Linked DNA regions of Homo sapiens: region 1 is linked to region 2. The links are contacts of gene promoters, found by promoter capture Hi-C in blood cells and fetal thymus (Javierre and others, 2016). All regions are on one chromosome and are shown on one strand. Each heading gives the region's core, a stretch centred on a gene start or on the middle of the fragment in contact. The rest is flanking DNA. Distances are from core to core; before and after follow the strand shown.

Region 1 (3,136 bases), core at 23-2,522, 550 kb after region 2:
CCCTCTTACCTGTGTATGGCGAGAGCCAACAGTGCGGGAATGAATAGCTGGGATTACCATTGTGTCTGTTATTCTACTGGTGGTTGGTATGGTCAATAATAAGGACTTCTAGCACATGAGAAGAGCCTAACAGAGGCCATCTTTGTCAGATACTGTATATGTTACTGAGCTATATGCCAGGAGGAGATAGCCATCAACCCAGAAAGTGTGGGACTTACTAGACTTGTAAATTTTAGGGCTACTCTTCCTTCCTGTGAATTTACTACTTGTTTTATTAAGTCTTTGTTTATGTTGCTGTCAAGTGAGTTTCTATCACCAAGGGACATTTCAAATTCCATCAGCTCTCCCCTCACTACCATATTCTTTGAAGGGCTTAGCTATATACTGGTATGACCTATCTAGTTCTAAAATTAGGGAGCAATCTAGGCCCCTTAAGCATGTAGATCCTTTATGTTTCATGTAGTTTAATAGAACTACTGGGGGTGGATGCTTGTGTTGCCAGAGTACTTTTTCTTTCTTTCTTTCTTTCTTTTTTTGAGACAAGATCTCACTCTGTCGCCCAGGCTGGAGCACAGTGGTGCCATCATGGCTCACTGCAGCTCAACGTCCTGGGCGCAAGTGACCCTCCTGCCTCAGCCTTCCAAATAGCTGGGACTACAGGCACAAGCCACCACACCCAGCTAAGTTTTGTGTTTTTGTAGAGATGGGGTTTCTCCATGTTGCCCAGGCTGGTCTTGAACTCCTGGGCTCAAGTGATCTGCCCACCTCTGCCTCCCAAAGTGCTGGGATTACAGGCTTGAGCCACTGCACCTGGCCAGAGTTCTAATTGTTAGCTCTTGGGAGAAAACTAAGAATCATCTAACTGAAACCCCTCATTTTATTGAAGAGGAAATCAAGTCCCAGCAAACTGGCATGACTTAGCTTTACTTAACTCATTGTGACACTTAGTTGGATCAACATTACAGAAAAAGGAACACATAATATCTAATTTTTGCCCAGTATATTGATATGAAATACATCCTACAGCTATGTTGACTTCTTGGGTTGTTCTAAATTCTTCAAGATCACTGTAATTTGGAGTTTCTGGTAATTTTAATATTTTATGTAATTCACATAAAAATTGGAACCTAATACTCAGATTCCTCTTATTAAAACTGAATTAAATCAGTATTTAGAAAATAAGTAAAGCTTCCTTTATTCTTTTTTTCTTCAAAAGTTACTTAAGATAAATAAAAATTTGGTTTCCAAACACTATCAGGCAGTAGAAAAAAGAATTTGAAGATCTAGATGAAAGGAACTTCAGATGCCTCCTCCAGGAATATATGTACTTCCTTTTAAAGAGGTAAGAAAGCTTACATCGTTTAAAGAGTTTTTTTTAAGGTAATATGTTGTACTGTCCTTCTTTACTACAGTTTTTCTTTGAAAATATATGCTTTTCTAACGAATAAATTATAATATAGTTTGGGAGAACAAATAGATAATTTTTAAGGAAAATTAAATATCATAATTTATAATTATGCATAATTTATGCATGTATTCATTTGATGGAGTTTATTGAAAACACTTTATTATTTTTCAATTTGCTTTTCTATAAAGTCCTTGAAAAAGTGTTCAGACATAGAAAAGTCAATGGCATAAAACAGAGCTAGTAGCTTATTTCTACATAGTCACATATTTATCCTAGTTCCTTTCACGATTCCACGTCTCATTGTTCCATTACAAGTAGGACTCACAATATTTTAAAGGTCATCCTCATGTCATCCTGAAGTGACATGAGGAGAGAGCTGTATTCTTTGGGAAACACTGATCACAAACCAAGAAAAGGCCCTGAACTTCAGGGAATTTGTAAGACATTGCGGCCACTCACCAAAATCTGTTTTCCCAATGCCAAAAATGAGCCCCTCTAGGAGAGGTGACAGCTGTTTCAAGATGCGTTCTCAGACGCTCATCTGTGATTCAGACATACTTGTAGATAGAGGAGGAGCAAAGGTAAGACCTCACATCCCACCCTAGCCCTGGCAAGCCCATCAGCAGCCCGAGTCCCTGTGTGTGGTTATCCACGGCTTCACAGCTTAGCTTTCTGTTAGGCCTCAGAATGAGAGCTGTTGATGACTCATTAATGCTAACCATTGATTCCTGTGTCCCGGGTTAAGACTCAAAGGACAACATGGCAAGCAAGACCAGTGTCCCTTGTGATTTCTCCCCAGTAGGAAATACTCTTCTGTTCCTCTGTGGCCACTCTGTCCTCACAGGGAGTGACTTCTTACCCTGTCCCGAAAACTCACAATATAGACCCTGGACCCCTCATTCTTTCTCCTCAGTGACAAAGGTCTATAGTTCATGTATTTTAAAAACTACTCTGTGGTTTATAACCTAATTTTTAAAGTACTATTTAAGTTGTTCTCCAAAAGAATTTCACTGAATATTTAAAAACACGTTTGGAAAACTTAAGCACTATAGTTTTAAGCCAGCTGTCTAGGAATTTAGTTTGGACACATGAGAAAGATGGTCAAGAATCAAGAGCAGCGATGGGGTCTTGGGTACCCACGGCTACGCTGGACTGTTAAGGTAGTAAGGATAGTCTGAGAGGTGGCTTCAGAGGTCTGGATTAAGTGTTAGTTTGTCAGTCCTTTATTATAAAATGGATTGTGTCCATTTTCACCTCTCATTAGAAGGCGCGTGCATGTGTGTTTGTGTGTGTGTGCACGCGCTCACTCGCACTTCCTTTTCCCTTTGAATTTCTCCTTGGTGCTGTTAAGTGTATACTTAATGCAATGTTTTTGGAGGTGGTGGGGTGGCGAGTAATAGCTGCCTTAAAAACCTCATGAGCTCCCCCTGCTGTTTTGCAGCTGACAATACAAGTCCCTTCTATTTTAATTCCCAGAAGCACAGAAGAGTGAAAGAGAATCCCTCGTGGGTTTGTTTGATCTACGAGGCAGATGAATACTTGTCAGCTTTCTCCTGAAGGTTTACGAAATCATAGAGGAAAGGGAGAGTTAGCATTTGATCTGGGCTATCACTTAACTTAGGGCACCGGAGCTGTCCCCCTCGTTTGATCTAAGTAGCGGGTCTATACCACTTTTGAATACCTGCCAAAGAAGAATGAAGAAACATATTATGAAGTTACATCAGATCT
Region 2 (3,493 bases), core at 851-3,350:
AGTTTCAAAATGTTGTTAGAGTGTTCTAATGCCTGTGAAGATCTACATATTGCTATGTACCTGCTTACCAGGCTTGTACCATCCAATAGAATGCTATTTACATGCTTACCAGGCTTGTACCACCCAACAGAATGTTGTTAAGAATAGGAATGTTAAAGGAAGAATGAATATTGTTCTATCTTCTATATTTCATGAAGGTGTCAAGATGTTTTTAAACACATTCCCTTGTCCTGTTTAAGGTTTCAGGCTCTGTATAACTATACTCCCAGGAATGAAGATGAGCTGGAGCTCAGAGAAAGTGATGTCATTGATGTCATGGAAAAGTGTGATGACGGCTGGTTTGTGGGTATGTGCGCTTCTTCCTCAGGCACCTTCGGCTATTTTGTAATTTGCTTGAGTTTGCTCACTCCCGTGGTTTGCTGTGATGGCCGAGCTTCCTTTGAATTCGTAATGCCTTTGATCTTTCAGACATTCATATGCACAATGTAATCCCAAGGCTATTGCATTTTTAATATAGTTTAGTATTCACTGCTTCAGCTATGTGTGATTTTCTGCGAGCTTTATTTCCAACTCAACTGAGAGAAGACAATTTCTTTAAATAGCAAAAACCAGGAAAGATTGAGATCTAAGAACAACAACAACAAATGGTCCCCAGAAGAGAAATATCAACGCTCTGTGCTGTGGAAAATGTTAGTTGTCCACAGTGAGAATCTAATTTCAGAGGGAGTGAGATTAAGTGAACAGCTCTCCCGTTTCCTAGGTCTGACGTAGATGCCCGAACATTCAGTGACTCACCTTAACTTTAGTTTGTGGTGGAAGCAGAGAGACGTTCCATTCTTCCCACTTAAAAGGCAACTTCATCTTTACCATCCTAAAAAAAAAGACGAGAGGTCTTCTGGGAAAACATTTGTAGACAAAAGTATTTTACACTGGGCCACAGAAAGAGGTGAAAAGGAAACACAGGCTGCAGGGCAGAGAATGGAAGAGAGGAAAGGTGAGAGGAGAGGAGGGCTCACTCTAGACATCCATCGGTGGCAAAATCATGAAAGAATTGAGGCCCTGGTGCGGCCACAAGCCTCTGATTTTATTTCCATTAAAAGAAGAAAAAAAGGCCGGGTGCGGTGGCTCATGCCTGTAATTCTAGCACTTTGGGAGGCCGAGGCGGGTGGATTACCTGAGGCCAGGAGTTCGAGGCCAGCCTGGTCAACATGGTGAAACCCCGTATCTACCAAAAGTACAATAATCAGCTGGGCTTGGTGGCAGGTGCCTGTAATCCCAGCCACTCAGGAGGCTAAGGCAGGAGAATTGCTTGAACCCAAGAGGCAGAGGTTGCAGTGAGCCGAGATCATGCCACTGCACTCCAGCCTGGGCGACAAGAGCGAAACTCCATCTCAAAAACAAGGAGGAGGAGGAGGAGGGAGGAGGAGGAGGGAGGAGAAACGTAAAATGGCTTGCCTAGCCAAGGAAAAAGAAAAACAGCCATCAAACCAAGGCAGTAAGTGCCAGGATATAGGAGACAGATGAAGCTTGAGAGACCCTTATCCGGTCCATCTGCGCTGCCTAAAGAAGAATTTAGCAATTTAGTGCACCAACTTTTACAAGAAGTGTCCAAGGAATTACATTATTTGAAACCAGAGGCGAACATAATTATGATAGCCATTTGTGCGTGTGGTTAAACACACACCATGTTAAAAATCATGCCACTGATAGAACTCCCACACACAAATAGTGCTTAATCCTTTTTTTCATTAATGATTTGTAAATTGTTGAAAAATTGTATACTCGATGAAGGACTCTGGCAGTGCTGTTTTTAAATAAATGATGTGGCACTGACCATGATCTTCTGTAAGATGATAAAACTGTTGGAACAGCGACAGCCTGCCACAGATGATGTCTTCATGTCGCACCTGTGTTGCGCGGGTTGCTGGTCCCTGAGAAGCTTTGCTCTTAGGATTTTCCACTCACCCTGTCACCTGTCAGCCTCGCCTTGATCCCTCACCCCCGACTCTGGTGTGGCAGCCTCAGTGACTGAGCTCCTCCGCCCCCCTCCTCAGCAGGGCTGACTTTCCCTTTAGCTTGGGAGGCTCAGCATTTCTGTTTAGCCTGCCGCGATGGCAGCGCAGCATTTATGCCGGAGGGGCAGTGAGAGCGTCAGGCAACCAGCTAACACTGCTTATTTTGTCTGCCTATGGGCTTCATGTGAGTTGCCTGCCTTCTTTTCCAAACCCCTCGGGGCTTGCTGTCTTCCGAGGCCTTGTAAATGGGAAGTATTCAAGCCCATGTGTATGAACTGATATCGTTGTCACCCCCCTTTCATGACTCGCTTCTATTTTCAGGGACCTCAAGAAGAACCAAATTCTTTGGTACTTTCCCCGGAAACTACGTCAAGAGGCTGTGAATTGCGCTCCCTCCTTCTGTAGAGGCCGCCTGCCAGCCATGCACCTGCGTCAACGCGCCTGAAACACCCCGCGGGCCTCCCGTTGTCATGCCTTACGGTTTCCAATGCGCCGTCACCATCTCCACCTGCCACCAAACCACCAGCAGAGTAGCCGCCGCTGCTGTGAGCCTGGGGACGACATGGCAGGCTGGTCCCCCTCCGTGAAAGTGTGGATTCCTACTTCCTGCTCTAAGCTTTGACACGTCAAAATGTGGGATCAGAAAGAAAAAAATCATGATATTTAAAAATGGTCAAATATTTGAGGCAAAAAAAAAAAAAAAAAGTGTCTCCAGGAGGCTGTCCAGCCTCGTGGCTCCATTTCAACATCTCCCCCCAGGCGATGTTCTCCCCCAAGACGACCAGAAAATTGTTTATTGGGGAATGCTGTGGTTTGCATTTTCATATTCTTCGCTTGGCAGTGTGTATTCTTTTCACAAGTTTGCCTAGTGTCTTGGTTTACACAATATGACAACTGTAACTGTACTTTAGCTATTGTTTGCCTGCACATACATGTTGTAATATGCACAGTGATTACAACCTTTAAAGCAAGAGGAGGCGAGTTAATTTGGATGAGTGTGATTTTGCTGATTGAATGTGAGTTTTCAAATAGGAGTCTTTTTCTGCAATTTGTTTGCATTTTTTAGAAGTGCAAACAGTAAGTAAATAAAAGCCTTCGGTAATAATCATGACAATACAAGAGGCTGAGCTAGGCTACAGGGGAAAACTATTGTGTTGTAAAGTTGCATCGCTATTTTATATTAAAATGTAATGATCAGCATCATGAACAATGAGCTCTTAGTGTTTTATTTATCTGAAAAAATGTAAGTAAAAGCAGTGTTAGTGAGAGGTGCAAAGAATTATTCTAACAGACACCTGAAAGTATCTGTAAGCAATACTAGTAGGTAAGATTTCACTGTGTGTACACATACACATTTGAGATTGTATGAGAACATATAATCCATATGATATGTTGTACATTTTATGGAAATGTAATAGAATCTCACACATTATTTTATAGAAATAGAGTACAGAAGCATCACAAGTATTAAAGTTGGT

What was found. Contacts are between HindIII fragments. The CHiCAGO score rates a contact against its expected background, and 5 or more counts as called.
Region 1: a fragment that was not itself captured here is called in contact with the fragment with the promoter of SORBS2-AS1 in region 2 in 2 of 17 cell types (total B cells and naive B cells); the score reaches 8.8 in total B cells.

What each region holds. Positions count from the first base shown.
Region 1 is chr4:185,039,658-185,042,793 of GRCh38, reverse strand. No RefSeq gene overlaps it. Among named protein-coding and RNA genes, the nearest start is that of LINC02436, 11 kb to the left of the region's middle. The HindIII fragment of the contact is 163 bases long and covers 1,191-1,353 here.
Region 2 is chr4:185,586,532-185,590,024 of GRCh38, reverse strand. It overlaps SORBS2-AS1 (SORBS2 antisense RNA 1), which reads right to left and starts at 2,100. Exons shown (of 4, transcript NR_186082.1): 1 at 1,835-2,100; 2 at 796-871. It overlaps SORBS2 (sorbin and SH3 domain containing 2), which reads left to right. Exons shown (of 27, transcript NM_001395207.1): 26 at 240-346; 27 at 2,337-3,493. The coding sequence ends at 2,398. RefSeq lists enhancers at 2,446-2,525, 1,804-3,003. The HindIII fragment of the contact is 692 bases long and covers 1,942-2,633 here.